Linked DNA regions of Homo sapiens: regions 1 and 3 are each linked to region 2. The links are contacts of gene promoters, found by promoter capture Hi-C in blood cells and fetal thymus (Javierre and others, 2016). All regions are on one chromosome and are shown on one strand. The core of a region is centred on a gene start or on the middle of the fragment in contact, and the rest is flanking DNA. Distances in the headings are between cores, read along the strand shown.

Evidence for each region. Contacts are between HindIII fragments. The CHiCAGO score rates a contact against its expected background, and 5 or more counts as called.
Region 1: a contact is called between a fragment that was not itself captured here and the fragment with the promoter of ZNF583 in region 2, in 3 of 17 cell types (total CD4 T cells, naive CD8 T cells and activated CD4 T cells). The highest score is 11.5, in total CD4 T cells.
Region 3: a contact is called between a fragment that was not itself captured here and the fragment with the promoter of ZNF583 in region 2, in 1 of 17 cell types (non-activated CD4 T cells). The highest score is 6.2, in non-activated CD4 T cells.

What each region holds. Positions count from the first base shown.
Region 1 is chr19:36,383,527-36,386,505 of GRCh38, reverse strand. It overlaps a transcript of ZFP82 not described here. Among named protein-coding and RNA genes, the nearest start is that of ZFP14, 5.8 kb to the right of the region's middle. The HindIII fragment of the contact is 2,419 bases long and covers 230-2,648 here.
Region 2 is chr19:56,402,884-56,405,907 of GRCh38, reverse strand. It overlaps ZNF583 (zinc finger protein 583), which reads right to left and starts at 1,576. Exons shown (of 5, transcript NM_152478.3): 1 at 1,456-1,576. RefSeq lists a silencer at 1,343-1,552 and an enhancer at 2,013-2,152. The HindIII fragment of the contact is 8,045 bases long and covers 1-3,024 here.
Region 3 is chr19:36,365,296-36,368,135 of GRCh38, reverse strand. It overlaps ZFP14 (ZFP14 zinc finger protein), which reads left to right. Exons shown (of 5, transcript NM_020917.3): 2 at 165-252. The coding sequence starts at 244. Among named protein-coding and RNA genes, the nearest start is that of ZFP14, 12 kb to the left of the region's middle. The HindIII fragment of the contact is 9,657 bases long and covers 1-2,840 here.

The DNA of each region.
Region 1 (2,979 bases), core at 190-2,689, about 20 Mb after region 2:
TTACACTGGTAGGTCTTCAGTTCTGGGGTCTTGGGGATGGCCTCTCTCCATTAGGCACTGTCCTAGTGGGGACTCTCTGCAGTGGTTCTGCTCATGGACAAATCTGACTGGGCCCCCAGGCTACCCAAGGCATCCTTTGAAATCTAAGTGAAGGAAGCCATGCCCCCGTGACTCTTGCATTCTGCACTCCTGCCAAATTAGCACCACATTGATGCTGCCACCACAAGCTTACAGCTTATGCCCAGTGGCAGGCTGAGCCACACCTGAGCCAGCAGGAACCAATGGCTGGGGCAGCCAAGGGCACTCTACTGGCATGTGGGAAGCAGAGTCATGAGGCAGCATGAGCCAGTGAATGCTGTCTGTGATGGAAGGGGCAGCCTCAAAGAGCGCCAGAATGCCTTCAGGGTCATTCTCCCACTGTCTTGATAGCTCCTGTCTTCCTTCTATTCATACTAATCTTTTCAGCAGTCTCTGGGTATACAACCTTGGTTTGCACTCCTAAACACACCTTTTCACTTCATAAATGGCCAGGCTGCAAATTTTCCATATCTTTTTGTTCTGCCTTCCTTTTAATTATGTTTTATCTTTAAATCATTTCTACCTCTCACATCTTACTATATGCAGTTAAAAGAAGCCATGTAGCTCTTTCAGTATTTTCCTTAGAAATTTCTTCCACCACATATTAGTTCATTGCTCTTAAATTCTGCCTTCCAATAAAGCCCAAGGCATGGACACAAATTCAGCCAGATTCTTTGTTAATTTCTAATAAGGATGGCCTTTATTCCAGTTTCCAATACCTTGTTTCTCATTTCCAGCTGAGACCTCACCAGAATTGCCTTTGCCATCCCTATATTTATCAACATTCTGATCACAACCACTGAAGTAATCTCTAAAAAGTTTCAGACTTTCCATACAGCTCTTCTGAGCCCTCACCAGAATCACCCTTTAACATTCCACCCACAGCAATAGTCTTTTTCTGACATCCAGTTCAAAACTTTTTCAGCTCTTACCCATTACCTAGTTCCAAAGCCACTTCCACACTTTCAGTTATTCATTATAGCAACTGCGTACTTTTCCAGTACCAATTTTCTGTCTTAGTCTGTTTTGTGTTGCTATAACAGAATACTACAGACTCAGTAATCCACAGCAAACAGAAATTTATTGACTCATGGTTCTGGAGACTGAGAAGCCCAAGATTGACAGGCTGACATCTTATGAGTGGCCTCTTGCTGTGTCATCTCATGGCGGAAGGGCAAAGGGGGTGAGAGAGAGAGCAAGCCAGCAAAAGGGGCCAAACTCACCCTTTTATAAGAAACCCACTCACGTGATAACAAACCCATTCCTGTGGTAACAACATTAATCCATTCCTAAGGGCAGACTCCTCATGGCCTAATCACCTCTTAACAGTCCCACCTCTTAATATTGTTGCATTGGGGATCAAGTTTCTCCCAAAAACTTGGAAATGAACTTTGGGGGACACATTCAAACCACAGCACCTTCCACAAAATAAAAGTAAGTATTGCCACAACTCTTTATTTTTAACCAAATCTCTGTAATGTCACTCTATTCATAGATTAAGATTTGTACCTCCAAGTCCAGTTTGCTCAGATTGGGCAGATGTCATTAATTAGTCATTAATCATCTAGAATAATACATCTTGTCCACCCAAGATTTCACATGGTTTTTAATTTGTAAACAGTAAAATGTAACATGAAGAAGACTATTTTAAGTGCTATAATAAAATTAGGTTTTGCTAATAGGACAATGTGTTTCTCCTCTTAGGTAACATTTTCACATTAACAGAGGTCTTCTGGAGACAGTACCTTTACTCAAAATTTCTGAAACTATGTTCCACAGAACACTAGTACTTAATCCTACTTGAAGGAAATGATTTTGTGAAACATGTATGAGAGCTCTGTGTACTATATTTCTTGGGGGAAAAAGTCACATTATGTGCCTATCAATATGAAAGAAAATGGAGTTTTATTTTATTTAACTCAGTGTAATTCAGACTTCACCATAGAACTCCCATTCCCAATACCTATTGCAGATGTGATTCTACTTTGGCAGATGCTGCGATAACCAAAAGGACTTCGAAGATGAAAATGTCAGCATTATGGCAGATGTATGATTACTGGTATGGTGAGGAAAGCAACTCCCATCATGCTTTGTAACCAGCTGCTTGCTTTTTTTGAATGATACTTTTCAATAGAATAGAAAGCCCACTAGTCCTATCTTTTATATATACATTATATGTATTTAAACTTTCTTATTGATCAATATTTAGGTGATAAGCATTTTCTCACTGTGAAAAATACCTTATTGAATAGGTCTGTGTTTATTACTGTACATAAGCAAGAGTTTCTCTAAGGTATTTATCAAAAGTAGGATTGCTCAGTCATAGTTAATATTTACTTTCAACCTCACTAGATACTGTCATAGAAGTAGAGAGCATCAGTATGCTCCCAGTGCACAATCCCTTCAACCAGTGAAATATGTTTTCCTTATTTCCTTATATCCTTACTTCTGGTATGCATAGTAATATTTTCCTGGTTAATAGTGAATTGGGCATATTTTCACATCTGAATATTGGCTAAACGCTGTAACTTGCCAATTTATGTCTTTGCCTGTGTTCCTTTAAAAAAGCTTTTAAAATATAAGAATTATAAGATTCTTAAAAAATAAAATTCTAGATAGTAGTCCTTTGTTATAAATGGACTTACCTTCTCCCATATTGTATTTATGTTGATATTGTCATATGAATACGTTAAATGTGGATACAATCATAGCTTTCATTATTACCTAATAATCTTTTAAATTTTATTTTTTACTAGACTCTTGGTTTTCTAGGCAATCAGGTGTGTCAACTGCAAATAGATATAATTTTGTTTTTTTCTAAATATAGTGATTATTTTTTAAATTATTGTTATTGTAATAGAGTCTCCAAAACAAGGTTTAGTATTCATGGTGATACCAGGC
Region 2 (3,024 bases), core at 327-2,826:
AAACCACCACATGCTACCTATACAACCTCTGGCAAGTTAGGTAACCACTGCAAACCTGTTTCTCTATCAGTGAAATGGTAACTATTCCCTATCAATTGTTGGGAGGATTCTGAAATGATCTACATAAAGCATTGAGCACAGTGCTTAATTTTCATCTTTCTGTCATTTATTTTCATAACCAGCACATGGTAGGTCTCCCATTCCTTTTTCCTTTTAAATTCCTCACGTGCCCCCAGAGACTGAGAGGGATGGAAAAACTACTGTGCCAGAGGACAAGCAGCCAGCGTGGTCAGCTTTTCAGGCTTAAGGCTGAGGCTCCTGTCTGTCTCTCCCTTTTCAGCTCTCGTCCCTCCCTTTCTCCATCTTTTCCCCTTTATCTCAATCTTTCTGTCTCTCCACCACAACAGCAGTCTCCCAAACCCCAGAGCACACCAGCATCTCCAAGCACCCACACAGCTTCCTGCCCACACAAATCACAGACAACAAACCACATAGTTTCTCATTCTGGCACCTCCCCTGGCAACCTATGGACATGCCCCCACATTGTAGCCCGCCCTGCTCTCACAATGGGTCATATAAGGCCATTCTCAGTCACACTGTCACACTCACTGTCGGGATGACATACAGTGCTAAGTCACACCATCTCCCTCAGTCTCACATAATCACACACACTGTCATGCACAATCTCAAACACTGTCACATACAATCTTAGTCCAACAACAAAAACTCTGTTCACATACAGTTTCACATACAGTGACACAGTCTCACACACTGTCACACAAATTCTGTCGCAGTTTCATGTGGTCCCATATCAACAGCCACACACCGTACACAACCACACATAGCCTCACACACGGTGACATGGTCTCACATACTGTCACAGTCTCATCTAATCCTACACACACGGTCAAGCTCTGTTCACAAAGTCACACACACTGTCACACAGTCTTACATTATCCCACACACACAGGTCACACACACAGTGACATGGTCTTACACACTGTTCACACGTGGTCTACACATAATGACAGTTTAACACTGTCACACATTCCCAGTCTCACACATGGTGACGTGGTCTTAAGCACATACAGTGTCACACAGTCCCACACGGTCCCATATACTGTCAAAGGCTCCCGCATACACCGGGGCAACGGTCTCATACTGTCGCACACATTCTCACACCCAGTCTCATACTGTCACACATAGTCCCACATTTGTCCCACATGGTCTCACACTGACACACATATTCACACACGGCCTCACATTCTCACACTGTCACACACGGTCTCAAATTCTCACACAGTCACACATGGTCTCACACACGATTCCACACTGTCAAACACATTGTCACACACGGTTCCTTAATGTCTCACACATTCTCACACACTGTCACACACGGTCCCACACATGGTGGCATGGCCGCTCCCGGCGTCAGCTCCATCCCGCGCTCCTCACCGCCTCCTCCCTCCAGTGGGCACCTCCTTCGGCGCGGTCCTTGGAGGCCGGGGCTGGGCCAGGGCCCGGGCCAGGGCTCGATCCTGGCCGGCGGCCGCGCTCACAAAGGCGCCGCAGCCCTAGGGCAGGCCGCAGGGGCCGCTGGGAAATGGAGTCCGGGGCCGGCGCGGCGCAGAGGATGCTGGGATGTTGGCCGAGGGCCCCGGGCGGCCGCAGATCCCGCCGCTCAGTTGCGGGTAGTTACTGCTGCGCCCCTTTCCCTAGTAAGCCCACCTCCGCTGGCCTTCAGAATCCCACCCGGACCAGCTGAGCCCTCTCAGGCCGTTCGACTGTCCGCTCCCCCACCCGTTCCACCCGTTCCACCTGCGCAGGCGCAGCTGGTTCAGGTCCCCAAAGGCTGCCAGGCCGGGGTGCCAGCGCGGTGAGGCGCACGCGCAGTGACCGCGTCCGCGCTCCAGCGCTCCGGGTGGGGCTGTGAGTCCATCGCTGAGAAAAGGGAGCTGGAGGACCAGTGTGGAGCCTGAGCCAGCTGGAGAGGGGCCCGGTAGGATGTACGTGTGATTAAGCGCTCTGGCGGCCCGGGCTTTCTCTTTCCCTTTCTGTTTCTTCTCTCTCCGCCTTGCCCTGTCTTTCATTCGCCACTTATTGAGCGCCTGCTGTATCGGGCACTGTCGTGGGCCCTGGGCACACAGCAGTGAACAAGCAGACAAAATCCCCACCTCATGGAGCAGCATTCTAATGCGGGAGGAATTCAATAGGAAAAAATTAATAATAAAGGACACTGATGCATATTGGGAAGTAATGCGTATTATCAAGAAAAGCGAAGCAGAGTATTAAGATCATTCTTTCAGTTCTTCATTCTTTCAGTTATGCCCTCTGAATCAGTGGAAAAAACGCAAGGTGCATTTTTTTCTATTATCTCAACGACAACTAATCATAACAGAAGACTTTTCTGACCAAATATAGGGGAGTTTCCCACACATCTCAAGCAAGCAATGAGTTCAGTGAGTTCTGCAGCGGGCACCAGCTGGGTGTCCTCCAGTTTAATTCCGACGCCGTCTACTTGGAGATGGGTCAGACACCATTCGCTGAGGGCTCAGTCCCCAAGCCTGCCTCCCCCTTCCCACTTCCCACTAAAGTCTAGCCTCTGGAACATCTGACTCCACCACCTTCAAATTGGGATTTTCACCACCCCCTCTTTGCGGTTCGATATTTTGCTAGAGTGGCTCACGGAACTCAGGAAACACTTATGTTTACTAGTTTATTATAAAGGATATTACAAATGATATAGATGAAGAGATGCGTAGGGCAAAGTACAGAAAAAAGGGTGTTGCACCTTCCAGTAACCTCCACATGTTCAGCTGGGTGGAAGCTCTCTAAACCCTGTCTTTTGGGAGTTTTACAGAGGCTTCATTACATAGGCATGGTTGATTAAAATCCCGTCCCCTCCTTAGGGTTGGGGGTGGGGTTGAATGTCCCAACCTTCTAGTCATGTCTTGGTCTTTCCATAACCAGTCCCCATCCTGAAACTCTATAGGGGTTGCCAGCTGTCAACTCATTAGCATACAA
Region 3 (2,840 bases), core at 58-2,557, about 20 Mb after region 2:
TATAGGATAGGGATGGGCATAGTGGTGGGTGGTACTTTGGAAAAGCCAATGGAAGTAGTTTGGGAGAAGGAATGGAAGAGAAAAAAGTTTTCATATTTATGATGTACATCATTTTGGGAGCTCTGTGGCGCAGCTTATTTCATGGTTTCTTTTTCTTCTTTCAGCTCTGGCTTATCAGGACTCCATAGTTCTCCAACAGAGAAATCTTGAAAAGGACTGACCAGTTTTTGCAGTTCTAAAACCATGGCCCATGTAAGTTAATGTTTCTCTGTCCTTTTCGAAATACTGTCAATTTCTGTATCATGTATATAGATTCATTCTTTATTCTGAAACTTCCTGCTTACCAGAGCTTCATCCAAGAACCTGCTCCATGGCTGGACGCAATGGCTCACGCCTGTAATCCCAGCACTTTGGGAGGCCGAGGCAGGCGGATCACTTGAGGTCAGGAGTTCGAGACCAGCCTGGCCAACATGGTGAAACCCTGTCTCTACTAAAAATACAAAAATTAGCCAGTGTGGTGGCAGGCGCCCAGGAGGCTGAGGCAGGAGAATTGCTGGAACCCGGGAGGTAGAGGCTGCAGTGAGCCGAGATTGCGTTACTGCACTCCAGCTGGGGCGACAGAGCAAGACACCATCTCAAAAAAAAAAGAACCTACTCCAGTTCTTTTCCCTCCTGTGAGGATTGGGACAGATAGCCCAGTATCCTATGTGGCTATCTCTTCTCCCACTAATGTTGAGCATCTCCTACCTACAAAATCTTCTGTCAATAGCTGTGAGAAAGCGGAAATGAGATGCCTTGAGAAAATTGAAGGCATTCTCTGCAGAATGTCCTCCTGTTAACATCTTCCAGTGGAACCGCTTTTCATTTTAAAACTTAAACTCCAGAAAAAGTATATTTTTCTCAGTACAGTGCTTTTTGTCTTAGTTTTACATAGAAAAAATAGGTGTCCCCAATACATAATATGACATTTTTTTTTTTTTTGAGACAGAGTTTCACTCTTATCACCCAGGCTGGAGTGCAGTGGCATGATCTCGGCTCACTGCAACCTCCACCTTCTGGGTTCAAGCAATTCTCCTGCCTCAGCCTCCCAAGTAGCTGGGATTACAGGTGCCCGCCACCATACCTGGCTAATTTTTGCATTTTTAGTAGAGATGGGATTTCACCATGTTGGACAGGATTGTCTTGAACTCCTCATCTCAGGTGATCTGCCTGCCTCGGCCTCCCAGAGTGCTAAGATTACAGGTATGAGCCACTGCACCTGGCCACAATATGACATTTTTAAAACGTTTTTGAAATTTTTTGTGGAGGAATGACATATATACAAAAAAATATACAAACCATAAGTGTATGGCTGGATGAATTTTCATAAATTGAGTACATCTATGCTATCAGGTCAAGAAAGGAAATCACCTCAGATGCTTTCAGTCACTCCCCACCCACCTACTGCCCAGGGTAACCACTGTCTTGATGTCGAACACTATAATGTAATTTTGCTTATTTTTGGAACCTTGTTCAAGTGGGGCAGGTGTGGTGGCTCATGCCTGTAATCCCAGTACTTGGGGAGGCTGAGGTGGGCAGATCGCTTAAGCTCAGGAGTTCCAGACCATCCCGGGCAACAAGGCAAAACCGTGTCTCTACAAAAAATACAAAACCTAGCTGGGCATGGTGGCACACCTATAGACGCAGCTACTCAGGAGGCTGAGGTGGGCGAATGACTAGAGCTCGGGAGGTGGAGGTTACAGTGAACCGAGATCGCACCATTGCACTCCAGCCTGGATGACAGAGCCAGACCCTATCTCAAAAAGACAAAACAAAACAAGAACTTTGTTCAAGTGGAATCATATAGTTCAATACAATTTTTTTTTTTTGAGACAGAGTCTCGCTCTGTCGCCCAGGCTGGAGTGCAGTGGCAGGATCTCGGCTCACTGCAACCTCCGCTTTCTGGGTTCAAGCGATTCTCCTGCCTCAGCCTTCTGAGTACCTGGAGTTACAGGCGCCCACCACCACTCCCAGCTATTTTTTGTGTTTTTTTTTGTAGAGACGGGGTTTCACCATGTCGGCCAGGCTGGTCTCAAACTCCTGACCTCAAGTGATCCACCTGCCTCGACCTCCCAAAGTGCTGAGATTACAGGCATGAGCCACCATCCACCATGACACCCAGCCTTTTTTTTTTTTTGACAGAAGGTCTCACTCAGTCACCCAGGCCGGAATGCGGTGGTATGATCCCAACTAACTGCAGCCCCGACCTCCCAGGCTCAGGTGATCCTCCCACCTCAGCCTCCTGAGTACTGGGGACTACAGGCACGTGCCACCACTCTTGGCTAATTTTTAAAATTTTTTGTAGAGATGGGGTCCCACTATGTTGCCTAAGCTGAACTCAAACTCCTGGGCTCAAGTGATTCTCCCACTTTAGCCTCCCAAAGTATTGGCATTATAGGTGTGATCCACCGCACCTGATCCAATACAATGCTTTTTTTTAAAAAACAAAAATAACATCCAGGAAAAATCTTGTTATATCCCAAATACAGTTGTTAGACCAATGGAACCATCTGCAGATGTTTTGAAATGTGTATAACTATCATTCAAGGGCATGTGTGTACCTGGTGCTGCTAGTGACTGAGGAGGTAACAGAGCACCATCCTGAGTGTCAGCCGTTCCCGCTATCACGTTCTTGTTGGAAACACTTTTCCATACTGTGCTTCACATATAGCCCTCATTTTTGTCTAGTGTAAAATGAGTTCCTAAAAGATTGGAAAAGTATTGAAGAAAATTGTGGAGAAAGAAACCAAGCAAATGAGAAAAATGAATTTAGTAAAAGAGATGATTAAAATACTAAAAGC